7 separate regions of the Homo sapiens genome follow, and all the other regions are linked to region 5. The links are contacts of gene promoters, found by promoter capture Hi-C in blood cells and fetal thymus (Javierre and others, 2016). All regions are on one chromosome and are shown on one strand. Each heading gives the region's core, a stretch centred on a gene start or on the middle of the fragment in contact. The rest is flanking DNA. Distances are from core to core; before and after follow the strand shown.

What was found. The method cuts DNA at HindIII sites, captures the fragments that hold promoters and counts their contacts. A CHiCAGO score of 5 or more calls a contact.
Region 1: a fragment that was not itself captured here is called in contact with the fragment with the promoter of PIGR in region 5 in 1 of 17 cell types (activated CD4 T cells); the score reaches 6.3 in activated CD4 T cells.
Region 2: a fragment that was not itself captured here is called in contact with the fragment with the promoter of PIGR in region 5 in 9 of 17 cell types (non-activated CD4 T cells, naive B cells, activated CD4 T cells and 6 more); the score reaches 8.4 in non-activated CD4 T cells.
Region 3: a fragment that was not itself captured here is called in contact with the fragment with the promoter of PIGR in region 5 in 2 of 17 cell types (endothelial precursors and naive CD4 T cells); the score reaches 6.4 in endothelial precursors.
Region 4: a contact is called between a fragment that was not itself captured here and the fragment with the promoter of PIGR in region 5, in 4 of 17 cell types (activated CD4 T cells, non-activated CD4 T cells, naive CD4 T cells and 1 more). The highest score is 10.2, in activated CD4 T cells.
Region 6: a contact is called between a fragment that was not itself captured here and the fragment with the promoter of PIGR in region 5, in 12 of 17 cell types (non-activated CD4 T cells, total CD8 T cells, M2 macrophages and 9 more). The highest score is 9.7, in non-activated CD4 T cells.
Region 7: a contact is called between a fragment that was not itself captured here and the fragment with the promoter of PIGR in region 5, in 1 of 17 cell types (non-activated CD4 T cells). The highest score is 6.0, in non-activated CD4 T cells.

Annotation. Positions count from the first base shown.
Region 1 is chr1:206,616,552-206,619,426 of GRCh38, reverse strand. No RefSeq gene overlaps it. Among named protein-coding and RNA genes, the nearest start is that of EIF2D, 5.5 kb to the right of the region's middle. The HindIII fragment of the contact is 5,781 bases long and covers 1-2,875 here.
Region 2 is chr1:206,649,963-206,652,913 of GRCh38, reverse strand. DYRK3 (dual specificity tyrosine phosphorylation regulated kinase 3) reads right to left here. Exons shown (of 3, transcript NM_003582.4): 3 at 1-2,951. Among named protein-coding and RNA genes, the nearest start is that of DYRK3-AS1, 16 kb to the right of the region's middle. The HindIII fragment of the contact is 2,743 bases long and covers 217-2,951 here.
Region 3 is chr1:207,416,104-207,419,052 of GRCh38, reverse strand. It overlaps LOC105372880 (a long non-coding RNA gene), which reads right to left and starts at 2,708. Exons shown (of 3, transcript XR_922484.2): 1 at 2,441-2,708. LOC124904498 (a long non-coding RNA gene) reads left to right here and starts at 2,819. Exons shown (of 2, transcript XR_007066848.1): 1 at 2,819-2,949. The HindIII fragment of the contact is 500 bases long and covers 1,286-1,785 here.
Region 4 is chr1:206,453,812-206,456,756 of GRCh38, reverse strand. It overlaps SRGAP2 (SLIT-ROBO Rho GTPase activating protein 2), which reads right to left. Exons shown (of 23, transcript NM_015326.5): 21 at 1,733-1,879. Among named protein-coding and RNA genes, the nearest start is that of IKBKE, 15 kb to the left of the region's middle. RefSeq lists an enhancer at 1,409-2,080. The HindIII fragment of the contact is 257 bases long and covers 1,169-1,425 here.
Region 5 is chr1:206,945,204-206,948,178 of GRCh38, reverse strand. PIGR (polymeric immunoglobulin receptor) reads left to right here and starts at 1,713. Exons shown (of 11, transcript NM_002644.4): 1 at 1,713-1,843. The HindIII fragment of the contact is 20,587 bases long and covers 1-2,975 here.
Region 6 is chr1:206,633,142-206,635,878 of GRCh38, reverse strand. DYRK3 (dual specificity tyrosine phosphorylation regulated kinase 3) reads right to left here and starts at 343. Exons shown (of 3, transcript NM_003582.4): 1 at 99-343. The coding sequence starts at 175. DYRK3-AS1 (DYRK3 antisense RNA 1) reads left to right here and starts at 211. Exons shown (of 2, transcript NR_183645.1): 1 at 211-279; 2 at 896-1,683. RefSeq lists silencers at 1-13, 64-483. The HindIII fragment of the contact is 758 bases long and covers 1,044-1,801 here.
Region 7 is chr1:206,596,709-206,599,550 of GRCh38, reverse strand. It overlaps EIF2D (eukaryotic translation initiation factor 2D), which reads left to right. Exons shown (of 15, transcript NM_006893.3): 10 at 1-88; 11 at 459-548; 12 at 2,356-2,451. Among named protein-coding and RNA genes, the nearest start is that of EIF2D, 14 kb to the left of the region's middle. The HindIII fragment of the contact is 1,252 bases long and covers 833-2,084 here.

The DNA.
Region 1 (2,875 bases), core at 184-2,683, 330 kb after region 5:
ACTCCTGGGTTCAAGCGATCCACTCACCTTGGCCTCCCAAAATGCTAGGATTACAGGTACAAGCCATGGCACCTGGCCGTTTTCCAAAGTTATTTATCATTTTGCATTCCCACCAGCAATGCCTAAGAGTTCCAGTTGCTCCACATCCTTGCCACAACTTAACATTGTCAATTTTTTTTTTTTTTTTTGAAACGGAGTCTCACTGTCACCCAGGCTGGAGTGCAATGGCACGATCTTGGCTCACTACAACCTCTGCCTCCTGGGTTCAAGGGATTCTTCTGCCTCAGCCTCCCGAGTAGCTGGGATTACAGGCACCCGCCACCACACCCTGCTTTTTTTGTTGTTTTTTTAATATATATATATTTTTAGTAGAGACAGGGTTTCCCATGTTGGCCAGGCTGGTCTCAAACTCCTGACCTCAAGTGATCTGCCCATCTCAGCCTCTCAAAGTGCTGAGATTATAGGCATGAGCCACCATGCCTGGCCTTTGGTTTTGTTTCAACCATTCTAATAAATGTGTATGATATTTCATTGTGTTTAATTTGCATTTTCCTAATGATTAATGATGTTGATAATCTTTTCATGTGCCTAATTGTCATTCATCTAGTTTCTTTGGTGAAGTTCCTGTTCAAATCTTTTGTCCAATTTTTATTGGGTTGTTTCCTTATTATTAAGTTTTGACAGGTTTTTATATATTACAGATATAAATCTTTTTACCCAGTCCATGGCTAATCTTTTCATTTTCTTAACATGTCATATATATATATACACACACATATGTGTATATAAATACATATATATACATATATACACATATGTCATATATATACACATACACACACACATATATGTCATATATATACACACACACTTATATACACACACTTTTTTTTTTTTAAAGATGGGGTCTAGCTCTGTCACCCAGGCTGGAGTACAGTGGTGCAATCATAGTTACTGCAACCTCAAACTCCTAGGCTCAAGCAAGCCTCCTGCCTCTGCCTCCTATGTAGCTAGGACTTGTACAGGCACACATCACCACACTCAACTAATTGTTTTTTTTTTTTTCCTGGATCCGCTTGTTTCTATGCAATTGACTAATTTTTTTTTTTTTTTTTGAGATGGAGTCTCGCTCTTTTGCTCAGGCTGGAGTGCAGTGGTGCTATCTCGGCTCACTGCAACCTCCACCTCCCAGGTTCAAGCAATTCTCCTGCCTCAGCCTCCCGAGTAGCTGGGATTACAGGCGCCCGCCACTACACCTGGCTAGTTTTTGTATTTTTAGCAGAGACAGGGTTTCACCATGTTGGCCAGGCTGGTCTCAAACTGCTGACCTCAGGCGATCCACGTGCCTCGGCCTCCCAAAGTGCTGGGATTACAGGTGTGAGCCACCGCGACCGGCCACAACTGACTAATTTAAAAAAAATTATTTTTAGTAGAGACAAGGTCTGGCTATGTTGACTGGGCTGGTCTTAAACTCCCAGGCTCAAGTGATCTTCCTACCTCAGCCTTCTAAAGTGCTGGGATTTTAGGCATGAGCCACCATGCATCGCCAAAATATTATTTATTTGACAAATAAAAATTGTATTTTTTTTGTATTTTTTAAATGTACATTTATCATCTACAACATATTGTTTTTAAACATATAAATTGTGAAATGGCTAAATTGAACTGATTAACATATGTATTACTTCACATACTTTTTTATGATGAGAACACTTAAAATTTACTTATTTTGCAATTTTCCAGATTTTTTTTTTTTGAGATGGAGTCTGGCTCTGTCGCTCAGGTTGCAGTGCAGTGGTGCCATCTCGGCTCACTGTAACCTCTGTCTCCTGGGTTCAGGTGATTCTTGTGCCTCAGCCTCCCAAGTAGCTGGGATTACAGGCACTTGCTACCACACCCAACTAATTTTTGTATTTTTAGTAGAAACAGGGTTTGACTGTATGGGCCAGGCTGGTCTCAAACTACTGACCTCAAGTGATCCGCCTGCCTTGGCCTCTCAAAGTGCTGGGATTACAGGCGTGAGCCACTGTGCCTGGCTGGAATTTTCAAGATCTTAACCTGTCTTTTGAAGAGCAAAATTTATTCATTTTTATGAAGTCCAAATTGTTATTATTTATTTTAATGGGTCATGTTTACTGTGTCATATCTAAAAAATCTTTGTGTAACACAAGGTCACAAAGGTGTTCTCGTATGTTTTCTTTTAGAAGTTTTATGGTTTGTTTTCTATTCAGGTCTACAATCTGTTTTGAGTTTGTATGTGAATAGGCTGTGAGTTATGAATCAAGGCTTATTTATTTGCGTATTATAATCAATGAGCCTATATTGACATATCATTATCACTGCAAGTTCATAGTTTACATTATGGTTCATTAGGTGTCGTACATTCTGTGGGTCTGGACAAATGTATAATGACATGTACCCACTACTGTAGTGTCATACAGAAGCATTTCACTGCCCTAAAATCCTCTGTGCTCTACCTGTTCATCTTTCCCTCCCCCACGGATCTCTTTACTATCTCCATAGTTTTGCCTTTTCCAGAATGTTGTTGGGGTGATCAGACCCAACACCAGGTCGTGGGGGCGACGAAGTCCAGCAGAGTCAAAAGAATGAGAAAAAGACAGTTTGAGAGAGAAAGTGGGACCAGGGGACCATCGTGAGTGTGGAGGCTGCCAAGGCCCCGATTTCTGGGCGTCCATGGCTGCTTATTGGTGCTCAAACAAACAAACAGGTGGTGAAGATGTGGGGGTTGACAGGAAACAGTGTATCAAGTGAATGGCTGCTTGAAATAATGGGTGTGCTAGAAGCAAGGAGCCAGCAAGTCTAGCAGACATGGAAGCCCTGCCTCAGCTGCTCTCCCAACACTCAGCTTTTCTCC
Region 2 (2,951 bases), core at 339-2,838, 300 kb after region 5:
CTAACCTAACCAGTTTGACTGAAATGACTAGAAGAAAAATGGCTAAAGAACAATCCAGTAACTGAGGAAGAGACAGTCTGAATTTCTGTACTAACTCTGATCCAATTCAGTCACTCATTGCTATGGCTGGGCAGGGATCCAAGTGAAACTTTTAACAGTGGCCAATAAGGTGGCATAGAGTTACTGCCTCTAAAAACCACAACTTGTCCCTAAGCTTGAAACCCAACCATAAACTTCCTCAAATCCATGTGGACGAGCACCATGTTTTTAAGCAGCCCACTCTCCTCAAACTTGAATTGGCCTGCAGAAGACAGGTATGCCAACTTCAATGACTCTGCTCTGCATCACTCTCTCGGTTGCCAAATTGAGGCAGAAACATCCATTTGCCTTCCTGTAGCTTTCTAAAATCTGTCTACAGTGTAATGAGTTGTCTATACACTTTCCCTTAGCCCAGTTTCAGTAACCTTGTAGTCCATTCGATACACAGAAATAGAGCACGCACCAACCTCAGCCACAGGCCCCTTTCTCTCCCAAGTTCAGGCACAGTACTGGCTAGAACTCTCACTAAAAACACAAACACCAAAACACAGTGTACATCAGATGCATATGGGGTAGTAATGCTTTTAACAGTTTGCTTACAGGAGCAGTTCTTCAACACTGATAACAACTGGCAAAACAACCTCAACATATGCTCTGCCTAGATAATGCAGGAGATCCTTAAATTTCTCCAAGTTAGAAAATTCAGGACAACAGCAATATGGTGTTAGAGACTTCAGATCTGTGTCAATCAGATATAGCCTTGCTGCCACCTAAAGATGTGCTCGCCACCCCACACATGGCTTTAGCAGCAGTTCCAAAGGCCAATGCATTCACTCTTGGAAGACAGTGTCAGCTGTCTTGACACTGCTGCTGGCTACATTTAACCAACTCTATGATGTGGTACCAGAGCCCAAGAAATACATCAAGCCAGATCATTCTGTCCAAACATCCCAAGGAAACATGTGCCTTGGACAGCACCTGAGTGGGAACAGGCTGCTAATGTTGATATAAAATGCAAAATAGTAAAAGTAGCATTTTCTCTAATTTACTATTCAGTGAGAAACCCATGCAGAAATCCAATGCAGCAAATTGTAGAGGTTCAATGCTCCCTGATCTGCAGTTAAGCCAGGTGTGCCACCTCCTTCATCTGACTTGGATCCTGCTCTGGACTTCAAGGAAACATCTACCTGGCTAGCAGTTCAAGGACTCGATATAAAAATAACTCATGCTTTGTTTCAACTGGAGGGTCATGACACTGTTGGGCCTACAGGAAAACCATTCATAAGTCAATGTAAGCTCATATCTACTGAAAGAGTAGATTTGAGTTTTTTGAGTAGATATGAGCTTTTACACCCTAAGTTACAATGAAAAGATTCACTGAAGAAGGATTCAATCATGCTGTACTACTTCCTGGAGTTGGCAGAGAAATCATCCATTTCTTGGTAGTTGAAAGAAGGCTGATCCAAGAACACAGTGAAGAGATGTTCCCATTTCTCAAGGTGTTTCATCTTCCTGGCCATGATGATTTAGCACCTGCAAAATTCCCAAACCTACGCAATGTGGTTAATGCGGGGAAGCAGACATTGGACTACCAACTTCCAAAGAGTCACTATCTCGACTAGCAGATCATGAGGTAGATGAGGCAGTTTCAAGACCTCCCTTGAAGAAGGCAGTGATGAATAAAGAAGAGGAGGATGGGTTATGAGCAGCATTTAGTGTGACATCTGAAGAGATCAAGATGCCACTATCAGACAAGAAAACCAATAACCAGACTAATTTCACACAGCTTCTTCAGGCAATGGAATCAAGAGATAGGATGCAGACTTAGAAAAAAAGAAAGAAAATTCAGCAGGAGTTAGAGGGATCTAAAGGAGTTGTATATTTATTGCCTTCTGTAAACCAGGAGTAAAGGAGATAATTAAGGTTTTAAATAATCCAGTTTCTTAGTCACCAAAAGTACCAAGACTTCCTCCTATTAATGAGGCTGAAGGCTCAGTTTAAGCTGTTCTCTGCCATCTGGCCCTTGTACTTGGGAGACTAAAGCCACTGTGGACATTTAAATGAGAGAGATTTGCACTCTCTCATTTTTCACAGCCTATGCTACAGCAATCATGACTACTTTTGGATAAAACAAAAGTTCCTTAAATAATATACTCATGGCATTTTTATTTTCTTTTCTTGTTCCTACACTGCCCAACAAAAAGAGTCTCTTCCAATGTCATTGAGTTTGCACCACATTCTAGAATAATAAATGGAACTGGATCATTCTGAGAACTATATTGTAAAAAGCAAATATTCTACTTTAAAGAACACACTTTTTTTGGTTTGTTTTTTAGACAGAGTCTCACTCTGTTGCCTAGGCTGGAGTGCAGTGGCATGATCTCAGCTCAAGTGATCCTCCCACCTCAGCCTCCCAAGTAGCTGGGATTACAGGCATGTGCCACTAGGCCTGGCTAATTTTTGTATTTTTTGTAGAGGCAGGGTTTCACCATGTTGCCCAGGCTGGTCTTGAACTCCTGGGCTCAAGGAATCCACCCACCTCAGCCTCCCAAAGTGCTGGGATTACAGGCATGAGCCACTAATACCCAGCCAAGAGCACACATTTAGGATAGAACTTGAGCATACTTTTGTTCTGGAAGAGGACAGAAATAGAGCAAGGGACAGGAAACAACAAACAAAACCCAGTAGCAGTGAGTTAGCTTCTGTCCCGTCTCCACCCTTGTAAGTAGGACACTGGCTTAACAATTAGTTTTATTATCAGCCCTCACTGTTTAAATCTTAGCAGAGAAAAAGAAAAGCTGTTGAAGAGAATAAAATTAAGAAACATAAAAAGGGAAAACTTGATTATCACCAGTTTCTGGATTTTTAGTTTTCTTCTTCTAACTGAAGTTCACTCAGATCTAGGGAATAGC
Region 3 (2,949 bases), core at 286-2,785, 470 kb before region 5:
TGGAAGGGACACATATTCAAACCATACCACTGCCCTTTTGTGAATGGCAAGCACTGTCACAAGTAATCCTTTTCTCTAACCATGAATATTTTTCTCACATGAATGCATTGAATGGTATTCAGCTAAATACTCAAGAGCACCTTTTGCAGATCTCCAAAGTTCTCTTTTTCTGCAGTTCTCTTCTATGTCTCTGTCCTGTGAACTTTACCTTCCTAGCTTCCTTGATCTCCCCATACTCTCAGTATTGTCTCAACTTAGGTAGTTCACTGCCCTCCACTTTCATTCCCCTTCCCTGTGCAGCAGTCTGGAGATTCTTTCAAGACAGTAAAGTAGGGCAATCATAAGTCTTACATCATTTGTTTCCCATCTCACAGGGATCCCAGTCCTTCATTATCTGATGTCCAATGTCTTTCAAATAATTGTTTCCTATATGTCATCTATTTTTTTGTTATGTAGGCGGGAGGATAAACCCAGTTCCTCTTTTCCACCTTTGCTGGAAGCAGAAATTTCCTTTATGGTTAGATACCTTCCTCTACAATATACTTAGAAAGCTCTGACATTCTCCAGTCTATTCAGCATAGGTCACCTTTGAGTTTAGGTTTTAGTCAACCAGTGGAGCAGATTTTTAGAGCCACTCCCAGTTGTCTAAGCTAATGCATCAAACCCAGAATCTTTTGTTAGTGCTCTCATGCTGAAAATGCACTAATGCTAGCACTCACCTGGTAAAAATATATATATGACATATTTCTTTCACTCTGGTCTAACATGTTTAAGATCCACTCCCATTTATATTCCCTGGATTTCTACAGACATAAATAAGAGAAATCTGGAAATTCTTTCCATGTATATAATACTTCCTCCCAGGTCACACATAAAATCAAGCCTGGGGAGCTGAGAGAACTTAAAAATAATTATAGATCTAGAACCAATGAGAGCTGCTGGAGGTGGGTCTTGATGAGGATCAGCATTCCCCTCCAAGGTAACTTCTTTGGGAAGTTCATTAAAGCCTCTTCAAAATAAACATTTCTCATTGTAAGTCTGTCACCCACAGGATATAACTTTAGTTCTTTTTTTTGTTTTGTTTTTCTTTTAAGAAATGTTTACTCGTTGACTACGTGAGATAATTTTGGGGGGGCCTTCAAAAAATTTCTTGTTCTTTATTCAAGCTTGAATTGAGAATTTAAAGTCTTGATCATATAATTTTCTTTCTCCAAGTTCTCTGATTCAGAATCAGTCAGTAAACCATATAGTCTTTATGTTATCTTCATTTCTATTAAAATAAGCTTTATAGGCAGATGCAAAGATGAGAACGACATTTATTTTACTCACAGTTGTAGGAGGTGCAATGTTGCGCTTGTTCATACAACTTCTAAATATGAGATTAATCAGCTTTGCCCACTGTATGCTAAGTAGGTAGGGTTTGTAACAAAGTTATTTAGGTATCTTCATGTGGATCATTACTACCATGTTTCAACAGTAAAGCCAATAGGATTTGCTCTGTTGCCCATGCTGGAGTGTGATGGTGCGATCATAGCTCACTGCAAACGTACCCAACCATAAGAGATAGTTAAGTAAAGTAGGGTATATCTATGGAATATTATTACATGCCTTTACAAAAATAATAAAATACTTATGAAACATTGAGAAGTAAAAAAAAAGCAGCATGAAACAAGAAAAAGTCATTTATAAAACCAAATTTTCTAGTGGCTACTTCAGCATTTTAAAAGAATGACAGAATAGCAAAATTCTTCTTGGGGAAAAACTGCTCTTTTGTTTAGGGAAGCTTGATGAAGGAAGTTCTTTTGCTCTGGGAGGCAAGGCCACAGGCCAGTCTAGATAGGGAGAGGTTTCAAAAAATCAGGAGCCAAATTATTCAGTGTGACAGAATAACAAGAGTTTTTAGTTTTTACGTTGATGGCCTGAAAGATAGAATGCTGGAGCACATGATCAGGAAAGAGAGGCAGCAAAAAGATCAACAAGGTTGTAGTAGGCCAGGGAGCAGTGAAAGGTTGTTTCTGTAGTGACAATAAACATCTCCTAATTGCATGAGAATACCTGCTCCGGAATTTTTTTTTTTTTTTTTTTTTGAGTCAGAGTCTCACTCGGTCGCCCAGGTTGGAGTGCAATGGCGCGATCTCTGGTTCAATACAAACTCCGCCTCCCAGGTTCAAGCAGTTCTCCCACCTCAGCCTCCTGAGTAGCTGGGATTACAGGCGCCCACCACCACGCCCGGCTATTTTTGTGTTTTTAGTAGAGACAGGGTTTCACCATATTGGCCAGGCTGGTCTCAAACTCCTGACCTCGTGATCCGCCTGCCTCGCTGCTCTGAATTTTTACCTTTATATTCTACATATTATATGATGTTTTTAATTAGAAGAAAAGAGCATGATAGTTATTCCAAGTCAGGTAATGGTTGGATAAAAAATAATGATTATCTTACCTATCAGTTGCTGAACTGAGGCCCAACTGGTTAACTAGTTGGTTGGATGTATACACTAGGTCAGTGCAGGTTAGCAAATTTGTGCAACATTGACACCTACTATTTGTTTTTAACTTGTTTTTCTGCTTTCTTTTGGCAATAATCTTCTGCTATTGCTAAACCTTTAAAAATGCTTTTTAAAAAACATGTCCAGCAGCAATGTGTTTTTGGTGTTTGGGGAAATACAGGAATGGGAGCTAGATGATAAAAGGAAATGATAGCAGGTGCATAGGAGGAGTCAGATTGAGTCGAGGTCAGCTAGAACACACTGTTTAATAGAACTTTCTACAACAATGAAGTGTTCTAGATCTGTACTACCTAATACAATAGCCACTAGCCATATGTGCCTACTGAATATTTAAAATATGGCTAGTGTGACTGGGAGCTGAAGTTTCCATTTTATTTAGACTTAACTAGCTCAAATTTAAATAGCCACATGTAACTTATGGCTTGGTATTGGACAGCATAGA
Region 4 (2,945 bases), core at 48-2,547, 490 kb after region 5:
ACATGCCCCGGGGCCACCGCTCACCCACCCACCAGGTGATGAGGCTTGTCCTCCAAGAACCCCATCCCAAGACTCCTGACACCAGCAAACAAGGAGTTCAAGGGAACCACCTTAACTGTCTACAGATACTCTTTTTTTTTCTTCTTCTGTTTACCATTTCAGTTATTACTCTCTACAATTTCTATGCACAAATGGCATCAAATATATGATGGCTTAAAAATATGTACTTAACTAATTATCTAACTCTTCCTCCACCAACCCCGCCTTGGTTTCTGAGTTAATTATAGGATCACGACCTTTTGATTGTAGGGTTACAATTTAACACAGAATTGTAAATAAGGAAAAAAATGTGATTAGCCCACAGTTACTTGATATTGGCTTGCCCTCCCAGCAGGGCAGTGTGCTGGAGGGAAACAGAAACTTCTCAATTTTTTTTTAACTGGTCTGAATTAAATTATAACTACACTGAGTAAGTGATCTGAATAAACGACTTTACTAACTTGAGGGTGAAAGAGATGGAAAAGAGCCACGTGCCCCAACCACTCCCCCTGCTACCGTCTGGGTGGAAAAAAGCCAAGAGATCTGGGAAACCTGGTATAGTTTAAAAACAACAAGCATCCTTTATTCTCCTTCCAGTCTCAGTGTCCAGAGGCTACGGTTAACAGGTTTTCAAAGTGCAAATCATTTCATTCCTCAAAAGCCAGAGGGGAATAAAAACTGTACATCATCTCCAATCCATATTCATCAGGAGCGCCCTGGGGCTTGTCATCCTGCTGGCACGGGGCCAGGTTTCAGGGCCTGGCGGAAAGAGGTCTGTAGGCTTTGGGACTTGGTGTCTGGCCCCTTGAGATGAGATTAGTTCTCCAATAACCTGAATGCCTCTTGGGGAGGCGGCAGCACGCAGGCGTAGAATCCCTCTAGACAGCCAGATCGGGCGTGGGTGGAGTTTAAACCCCAGGATGTTGCTAACAGCCACAATGAAAGCTGGGGGTCAGAGGTAAGAGCCTGCTGAGCAGGAGTGGGGATCTGCAAAGGGACTAAGGGGGTAGAATAATACAAAAGGCCAAAGCAATAGGAACAAAATGGAAAATTATTTCTCCTGGTGTGAAAGGGCAGAAGAAAAGGGAGCTAGGGGTTAGCCAATGAATGAAGAGCTCAGGACAAAGCTTTCCTTAGGGACATCGTGGCCTCCTTTCCTCCACAGGAGTGAATGCAGGACAGGGGGAGGAACAGACACATGATATCTCAATAAACCCACCTGGTGTAACATCAGCCTAGTAGAAGCCACACACAGACTCTGAATCTTTGCACGAACACGGGTCAAGGAAGACAGACATCAAAGACTATTATTTGAGTATGGATTGGAAAAAAGAAGGCACCTCTGAGAAACAGTACAAAACCAGGTTGCATAAAGTGACCAAAGCTTTGGTCAAAGTTTTAGCTGTAAGACTGCCACAAAGGTCTGGGTGGACAGACACTGCGGGAACACACAGTAAAGCACCCTTCCACAGCACGAGGGCAGCTAGCTGGAGACCTGGACCTGCCCCGAGGCTTGTAGCAGCATCCTCAGCCCTGTCCGCCTTGCAGCAGCAATGACCACATGCAAACTGTTAGGCTGGGGGAGCTGGGAGCCCTACGTGCAGCACAGGAATGGAGATGGGGGTTAGGCCAGAGGGTGAGGCTGGGTGTTGCAAGTCATTCAGGGGAGCAGAAAATGAAAAGCAGAGCTTACTTGTTGATGTTTGCAAGATAAATATCGGCTACATGACCCCCACTGGGACAGCTGGCCCCCGCTCTGGCTGTCACCTTTTCTTCAGGTGGCTCAGAAATGACCTCAATCTCAGACTTGGGGCTGGACCTCTCCACGACACCGTCCTCGCTGGGGGAGAAGGGGCAGGCAGGCAGGGAGGAGGGAAAACAACAACAACACAAAAAGCAGCGTTAAATCGGCAAGATGGCCCCCCGACATACACGCGACCCCACACAGCTCTGAGGCAGCAGCGACACCTGGCTGGACTAGTTCTGTGAGCAGAGGCAAGGAAACCTAAGGGCCTTTGAAGGGTCGTTTAAATAAAAATAAATAATCCGCTGAGTTCTGCGGGCTCCTCAGCTCCTCAGGAAAGCGTGGCTAGGGGACACCTGGATTCGAGGCATCTGCCTTCTACCCCATGCTGCTTCCTGGGGAGGCCGTGCTGGGGCGGCCTCCTGGAGAAGGAGGCGGCAAGTCCAGGTTGTGGTTTATCGGCTGAGGTCCTGAGCACTGCCGGGTAAGGACAGTCAACTGTGTGGTGGCTCTGGAGACGGCGGCGTCGTGGCAGGACACCGCCACACACTGTCGTAGCGCCTCTAGCCCCGCTCAGAGCATCCAAGCCGGTCCCAGGTCTCTCCACTGCTCTCCTGGCCCCTCTGGCTACTGATGACAAAGAAAGCCCCTTCTCCCCCACAATTCATCTTCTCTTGATCCTGTGGTGAAGTCATAATGCTAAATTTGGGAGGGTCCTGTCCACGCACAGATTGCCACCAGGTTTGCGATGCTATCAACAGAGGGAGGATTTCCCTGCAGAACGAGCCGGGAAGAGGCTGGGAGGGTGCAGACTCACTCAGGATATCAACCTTTAAAAAATAATATTAAGGGAAGGACTAAAAACACTGACAGCATCGTATCCAAGGGAGGGGAGCTGGGGACAGAGACAGGGCAAACGGACAGGGGGCAGGCTTGGGTGGGCCCACGGGACAACTGCTTCAAAGTGTGAGAATCAACCAACAGCCTATCAGATGAGATCTCTCTGGGACCAGTTCAGGTTTCCTTTGTTCCTTGACATCCTTTTCCCTCCTTCCCCCATCTTACCCTATATCAACCTCATCTCGGTTAAATGAACTAGGTCACTTCCATAAGGCTGCTTAAGCCGGATTTCTCCTAGAAAACCAGTCATTTTAATTTGCAA
Region 5 (2,975 bases), core at 464-2,963:
CAAAGCAAGACCAAAATAATAATGGGCCACCCCTTTTCACTGCCTCAGCAGTAACATTGACCACCCCCTCACCCAAGACCGCTCTCTCCAGACTGGACCCCAGGGGAGAGAAGGGAGACAAAAAGGAAGGGAACTCCATAATGAGGCTAAATTTTAAATCTGGAGTGAAGTGACTGAGAGATCACTGAATTGGGCTGAGCTTGCCTAGAAGTGACTAGGTAACTTGTTTTCTTTTATCAGTCAGATTATGGGTTTAGGGTTTGAAATTAAGCTACATCTGGAAGCCATCATCCTCATCAAACTAACACAGGAACAGAAAACCAAACACCACATGTTCTCACTCATAAATGGGAGCTGAACAATGAGAACACACGGACACAGGGAGGGGAACATTACACATCCGGGCCTGTTGGGGGGGGTGGGGGGAGGGAGAGCATTAGAACTAATAGCTAATGCATGTGGGGCTTAATACCTAGGTGGTGGGTTGACGGGTGCAGGAAACCATCATGGCACACGTTTACCTGTGTCACAAACCTGCACGTTCTGCACATGTAATCCTGGAACCTAAAACAAAATAAAAAAAGAAAATCTAAGTTTGCAAACCACAAAAAAAGAGAGAAATTAAGCTACATAAAGAAATTATGGGGTTTTTTTGCTTGCCATTGAAATCTGTGATTGTGTGTTAACACCCACAAGTGAGCCAGTGGTTAGCTAAAATAAGACCCAGGGCTCTGGCTGCCTTGTGTTTCTCCAGGGCTCTATTTCTCTATTTTTCCTTCCCCTTCTGGTGTTTGGCCTATAGGACTCTGTAGGGAGAGCCTGGGTCAGCCCTGCACAGGTAGGATGGGCAGCATTTCTGTGGGGGTTTGCAGTGAGGGGTCGGGGGGCCATACACGTGTGTGTTGGGGAGTGGGCTTCACTTTTGTCACAGGACTGCCACGATCATTTGGGGAACACCTGGGAGTCCCAACCAGGTCATGTTTTGGCATGGACTAACAGATAGGGAAGGAGGTGCTACTTCAGCTCAGCAGGTCAGCACCGTCCTTGCTATGGAGCCGAGCCCGGGTCCTAACAAGACTCTGAGGTCAGCCATGTTCAGGGGAGCCCAGAAGCAGCGAGTCTTTCATGACTCTGGGGAGTGAAACAGGAAGGGCCACAGTCCTGCCAGTTCCTGGAGCTCTGGGACTGGTAAAAGGGGCTTGGCAGGAGGTGTATAAGGGGCATTTTTGTCCAGGCTAAGTAACCTAGGGAGTCGGAGGGGATTCCAGAGCAACTGGGGATATGAGACCAAGGACTACGACAGCCACTCCTGCCACCTGTGCCCCATCAGATGATGTCAACTTCAAATCAAGCATTGGGCCAGGTATTTTAGAGCTAATACCGGGCTATATCCTCTACCTGTAGATTTGGTATTACCATCCCTCTTTTCCAGATGAAAAGAAATAGGAAGGTGACTTGCCAAAGGTCTTGCAGCTAGAAAGCGACAGAACAGCATCTTCACGCTTGACATTCTGTCCCTCATCCTGAAGCTGCAACGATGGAGGATTCCCAAGTAACAGAGTCTCCCCAAGGTCAAAGGAAACCAAATGGAGCCAGCCAGGAAGGCCAAAATGAAAGGAAAGCAAGGGATCTGTGAGAGTCACATGACCCTGGCTGGCCACGGTGCCTGTGGGAGAGTGGCCCTTTAAGAGCCCAGGTGTGGGTCAAACACTGAGCAGAGTTTCAGTTTTGGCAGCAGCGTCCAGTGCCCTGCCAGTAGCTCCTAGAGAGGCAGGGGTTACCAACTGGCCAGCAGGCTGTGTCCCTGAAGTCAGATCAACGGGAGAGAAGGAAGTGGCTAAAAGTAAGTGTTACTGCTCTGGGATCCCCAGACGGGATGCTATCTGGAAAGGGCTCGGGACGATGGCTCAGGTAACCCCCTCCATTCCCAACTCCCAGTCTCCTAGATAGTGGGGTGACAAGGACAAGGAGGCAGACTGTGTGACTGTGTGTGGCTGGGGAGTAAGCGTGCATATCGCAGTGGGACGAGTAGGGATGCACGTGTGTGGAAGCCCCCCATCCTTTTCTGAGAAATATCAGCAGGTGGGAAGGGACCTCTGTGGTCAGCATATGTAATTCTACTCTTTCAGCTTGGTCTGTGCCTGGATTTCCTAACTCCTCATAGTTGATTAACTGTGTGGCCTTAGACAAGCCACCTAACCTCTCTGATCCTCAGTTTCTTAATCTGTAAAACAAAGATAGAAATAACACCTATCATTCAGGGTCAATGTGGGTTCAAATGAGAAAACACAGGTGAAATAGCTTTGTAACCTCTAGAATGAAATAGGAATTGTTTCATATTTTTCAGTTTAGTTTAATTAATCAAGGATTTATTGAACACCAACAGACCTGGAATTAGATAGTGCGCATAAAGTATGGCACCTAGCAAGTCCTCTTCCATTCTTTGAGGTTTCCCACTTGTGGCTTTCTGGCAAAGGCATGTTCAGCTCCTTTTTTCTGGGCTTCCAAGAACCTCTGAAATCCTTTGCAATTCCACCTCGCTTTGCTCTAGCAGATTCCTGCCATGGGAGACATAAATGTGTGTCATCGCATCATCCTGCCCTTCCTAGAGGTAGAAAAAAAGAGGTCCTCACGGGATCACTGAGTGAGGTGGAGCTGAGCCCCACAGGCAGCATGATCAACTCCTGCTGTTCCTCCTGGCTCTGCAGCCAGCAGATCTCAGACATGGGCTTCCCCTCCCTTTGCCCATCCTGACAGCAGCCCAAGCCAGCAGTGGGACCGTCCGGCACAAGGGCAGCAGCGGGTCAAGCTCCATCCCTGACCCCCAGTTCCCTTTGTGCAATTGCCACAGTGCCTGGGGCCATTGAAGCTGCTCCTATTTTGTGCCATCACTTTCCCCCTTCACTAGGGGAATTATAGATCCTTTAACATCTGGAGAGGAGATGCCAATTTCAGGGGTTTAGGTAGAAGGCAGC
Region 6 (2,737 bases), core at 173-2,672, 310 kb after region 5:
GAGGGCTCACTCTACCTCCTCCCCACCCCCAAGCTTCGCTTGCCAGCGCCAGCCGCTCCCTGTGGCGCCTCCAGCCCGTTACCCCGTGGCGCCGTTACCTCCGCTGCTGGGGCGGGAGCCCGGCCCCAGGCGGCCCCGCATCCTTCCGCCCAGGCCCACGAGCTGTGCCTCCCATCTCCTAGCTCGGGACCCCGCGCGGGGAGAGGCGCCAGTTGGGGGTCCGGTCGGCCACGCCACCTACGCCGGGACGGCTGCCTCCGCGGCGCGACGCTCCCACGGGTACTCTCGACCAGACACTGCAGCTCAGCGCACTTTCGCTCCCGACTGGCCCCGGCTGGGAAGTGGGGAGACGCAGCTCCAGGGGCGGGAGGGGGAGCGGTCTGGTCGCCTAGCAACCGCGGCACGCCCCCGGGAAACGCCTCGGCGCAGCTACGGGCTGACGCACAGGGGCGGGGCCCGTGGCCGGTAAAGGCCACGCGGCGCTCCTAGCGGGTGCTAGTACTGGCGCGGGAGGCGGGAGGTTGGAGGCGAGGAGCTCGCGGCCTAGGCTGTTTGGGTCCCTGGCGCGAGCTGTAGACGGAGAGAGGGGTCCGGAGAAGGAGGGGTGAAAGTAGCAGTTAGCCCGCGATCTCAGAAGGGCTGCCCGCCCCTCACGGTCCCTTAATAGCACGTTGCGTCCTGGAAGTTCTAAAACGTCCCGCTTCAATATGAATTTTAAATTAGTGAAAACATATGTGTATTGTTTTAGGCTTTCCCACCGCGGGGACGGCCCTCCGGGGGTTGGTGAGTTACATAAGAAAGCAATAATAATAAACCCATTTATTGACACGATGCTTCCATTTATGAACATTTGATCTCAGTAACGGAGGTACCCGACGACTTTCGTCTTTTACAGACTTAGCTGGGATGCAGAATAGAAGCTGGGCCTTTGTCTGACTACCCTGCAACAGTCAGCCACAGACGGGAAGGCAGCGCAGGAAACTGAGGCCAAAGGAGCCGCGCTTCCTCATGAGCATGAAGCGGCAAAGCCTGAACTAGAAGCTTCTAACGCCTAACCGTCCTCTTGCCGCACCAGGACCTACCTCTGCAAGGCCCTTCCTGACTTTTTCCTTAGAATGTGTGTATATGTGTCTTTTTCCTTTTCTGATGCTAAGACACCTCAGAAACACCAATGTTAAGCAGATTTCCATCGTTGGAGGTTAAAACACCCGAATACAAGTGTTTTCTTGAGTGTGGCATCTGGTCAGATGTTTTATGGGTTGGTTTGTTTTTAAAAAAAAAAAATTTCCTGTTAGATGGGTGGTAAGAACCAGTCAGAGTTTGTAAACCCACCAAGCACGAGGCGGTCGGACCGTCCAGATTCTGGAGTCCAGAAGACACCAAACGTTCTCAGAATGCCGAACGCGGGCGCCACCTGGTGGGACTAGAACGCTTATTGTCCCAAATCAGCATAGCACACAGTTCCCATAAATCTTAAAAATTCCCATCCAAGGCTCATTTCCGTGTGACTAAAAGTCATATTCTCTGTTCTCGTGACTCCAAGTAAAAATGTCCCTAAAGAGCCAAAGTATCTTCACTGTATAAACTAATAATCTATTGGTTTGGGGAATTTTATTTTTTGTGATCAATGTTACTTTAGCCTTTCTATGATATACATATAAATAAAAAAGTTTTCTTCCATGATGATTTTTTAAAGTTTATTTTATAAATAAACTTTTTCTTTTTGTCTCTCCCTTCCCCCACTTTGCAACCAGAGCAATTCTGCTTTCACAGGGGTTTGTATTTGGGCTCTTACGAAGCTTTTGTTTGAAGAAAGAGTTCCATGGCAACGCAAAGATTGGACGAGGTTACTGTTGAAGTCCCTTCCAGCTCTAAGATTGCAAAATTCTATTAAATAATCCCCGTTCTCAGTACTTATGTAGACACCTCAGACCACTTTACTGCCCTCCCTAAACAGTTGAATGAGACTTGCCCCCACATGATTTCTTACCTCATTCTGAATCACTGCTCGTGAGAGGATTGCATCCGCAGTCTGTGCTTAAGACACATCTTCCAGAGCCAAGTGGAAGGGTTCCTGCTCCCTTTCTTGCTCCTAAGGTGGGAAATACAGAGGCCGCCTTTGTCTTTCGCCTATTGTTCCCATGGTCAAGGGAAAGAGGACTCCTCGAGGGTGCTGGAGCTTCATAAATCTCTGACCTTAGTGACCCAATGTTTCTTCAAAGATCCCCTGTATGATGGGGTTAACGTCCCATAAGGGATCTGGCAGGAGCCTCCACACCCCTGCTGAGCGCTGCCCTGTCCCCTCCAGCTCCCAAGCAGCTTCCACATCATTCATGCCCTTTCTTCCCCTCCAAAGCCTCATTCAAGAGTAGTTTAAAATCACCATTATCATTCTCCATGCAGTTAAAGTCAGATTTACCCACCATGAATTAGCCAAAAGTCATATAAGATGCATGTCTGTCCTTTGAAGCCAATTCCAAGACATCTGCAAAATAAGGTACCTGCAAGTTCTAATACATTGACTAAGGAAATAAACAACAGTAAAAAAGATGCAACTATTCCAGGATCTTAAAAACCCACTGGGACATTCACAATGTGATCAAAGTTTCAAATGCACAGATTAAGAAAACATCCCCGTGGCCACATTTACCTGGAATTTTGTGATAAAATAGCTGTTAGTAGGTTATGTTAAGTTTGGACAAGTTTCATTGACATTTCTGTACAGCAAAATGTGCCA
Region 7 (2,842 bases), core at 209-2,708, 350 kb after region 5:
GGGAACAGCCCTATCACCCTCCAGATATAAAACCCCTCTACTGTGTCCCAGCCAGCATGACCCTGCTCTTCCAGGAGTCTGGCCACAAGTGAGTTTTTGGAGAGCAGCCCTTCTCTGCCTGCTTGGTGTTCTGGCCTACAGTTCCTCTCAACCTGAGTAGTGCTCTTTTGCGACTGGCAAAACCTGCTCTGCCCCTGTTCTCCCCTTCTCCAAAATCCAGCTTCCAGCCTTCTTCCCTGGGCAAGTTCCTCTGGACTAAATGAACGAGTAGGTCTCACCCTTTTCTGCGTGTAATTATTCTTCACATGGTCATGCTCACTTCAGTCAGGAAAAGGGAAGAAACTAGAGGCCGAAAGCTAAGGAAAGTTCCCTGCTCAGCAGGGAGTGAGTCTGGGCATCTGCATTTTTGTCTCATGGCACAGCATGAACTAACCCCTGGGTCACTTCTCCTCACCTAGGAAGGGGAGCTTTCTGGAGGGCAGTGAGGTCCGAACGATCGTCATTAACTACGCCAAGAAAAATGACCTGGTTGATGCAGACAACAAAAAGTGAGTGCATGAGAAGCACCAGATCTGTCTTATTGGGTCTTTGTCTTTATCAGACATAGACACATTTGGGGAGGATGTCTGGGAGGGAGAATAGAAAACCATAGCATCTTAGAGGTAATTAAGATCAGTGGTTTCCAAACCATGGGCTGTGGACACTCAGTTATTGTCTGGGGTGTTCAGATCCATGTATACGATCAACATTGACTACCGACTAAGTAAATATTCTCTCACAAATACCCATGAATCATCTTTAATTGGCTATTGTGAGGAATAAAATGCAAGCTTACAAAGAATTTACTGAAGTCATCATAGCTTTAGGTATTTATTTTTATTGATAGATATTTGTACATATTTATGGGGTGCATGGTATTTTGTTACATGCACAGAGTGTATAACGATCAAGGCAGGGTATTTGGGGTATCATCACCTTGAGTATTTACCATTTCTATGTGTCGGGAACACTGTAAGTCCTCTTTTCTAGCTATTTTGACATACACAATACATTGTTGTTAACTACAGTCACCTTACTCTGCTCTCAAAGACTAAACTTATTTCTTCTATCTAACTGTATATTTGTACCCATTATGGTATTATTTTCTTAAAAGGAGATACAGATGGTAAACTACCAGATGAAGAGAGTTCCATTAATTGTTTTTTACTTTAATGGCCGGACACTGTGGCTTATGTCTGTAATCCCAACATTTTTGTAGGTTGAGGTGGGAGGATTGCTTGAGGCCAGGGGTTTGAGACCCACCTGAGCAGCATGATGAAACCCTGTCGCTACAAAAAATACAAAAATTAGCCGGGCATGGTAGGGCATGCCTGTAGTCTCAGCCACTTGGGAGGTTGAGGTGGGAGGATCGCTTGAGCCCAAGAGGTTGAGGCTGCAGTGAGCAATGATGATGCCACTGCACTGCAACCTGGGTGATACAGTGAAACCCCATCTCAAAAAAAAATTTTTTTTTCACTTTAAAAAAACATCATCATGATAAAAAAGTTGAGACATACCAGCCTAATCTAATACCTTCATTTTATTTTATGTTTTATTTTTATTTTTGAGACAGAGTTTTGCTCTTGTTGCCCAGGCTGGAGTGCAATGGTACAATCTGTGCTCACTGCAACCTCTGCCTCCCAGGTTCAAGCGATTCTCCTGCCTCAGCCTCCCAAGTAGCTGGAATTACAGGGATGCGCCACCATGCCCGGCTAATTTTTGTATTTTTAGTAGAGACGGGGTTTCACCATGTTGGCCAGGCTAGTCTTGAACTCCTGACCTCAAGTGATCCACCCATCTCGGCGTCCCAAAGTGCTGGGATTACAGGCGTGGGCCACTGCGCCCGGCCCTATTTTTAGTAGAGATGGGGTTTTACCATGTTGGCCAGGCTGGTCTTGAACTTTTGACCTCAGGTGATCCTCCCGCCTCAGCCTCCCAAAGTGCTGGGATTACAGGCGTGAGCCACTGCACCTGGCCAACACCTTCATTTTAAAGATCCCCACTTCCTTTCTTTCTTCCTCACTAGCCAATTTTGATGCTAAGCTTAGAAAGCTGTGGTCACATGCTTAGTTAGTAGCAAAGGCTCCTGATCTTCAAATTTATCCCATCTCACTTTCCCTTCCACCTCCTGCTTTTCCTAGGAAAGCATTCGTGTATCTCCCACCCATAAGGTACATTGCCTTTTGGACTGTGGGCCCATAATTGATTCATATCCTGAATGTCTATAAAGGCCGTACGAGAGATGAATCCTGAATTAGCCTTCAGGTCAGAAGGGACAAGTCTAGGATTTCTTCATTGCCTCTTCTTTCCCTTTAGTCTTGTGAGATTGGATCCCATCCTATGTGACTGCATCTTAGAGAAAAATGAACAGCATACAGTCATGAAGCTTCCATGGGACAGTCTTCTGACCAGGTAACGAGCATTGGCAGTCCCTCTCCAACTTTTCTATCCCCTCGCCTTAATGTTGATCACATTGAACTTTAATACTGTCACTATCTTAGCCTTTGATTTTCTTTCTGTAATTCATACCAAGTCAGTCTACATAAACACAGGCTTGAGGAACTCTGATTTGGGGGGTCTTTGGAACAATTTGAGCCAATATGACATGGGAGAGCTTGAAAGGAAGAACAAAAAGGAACATTAATTAAAAATAAGAACTTCAGGCAGGCATAGTGGTGCATGCCTGTAGTCCCAGCACTTTGGGAGGCGGAGGCGGTAGGATTGCTTGGGCCCAGGAGGTGGAGGCTGCATTGAGCCATTTTCATGTCACTGCACCCCAGCCTGGGTGACAAGGTGAGACCCT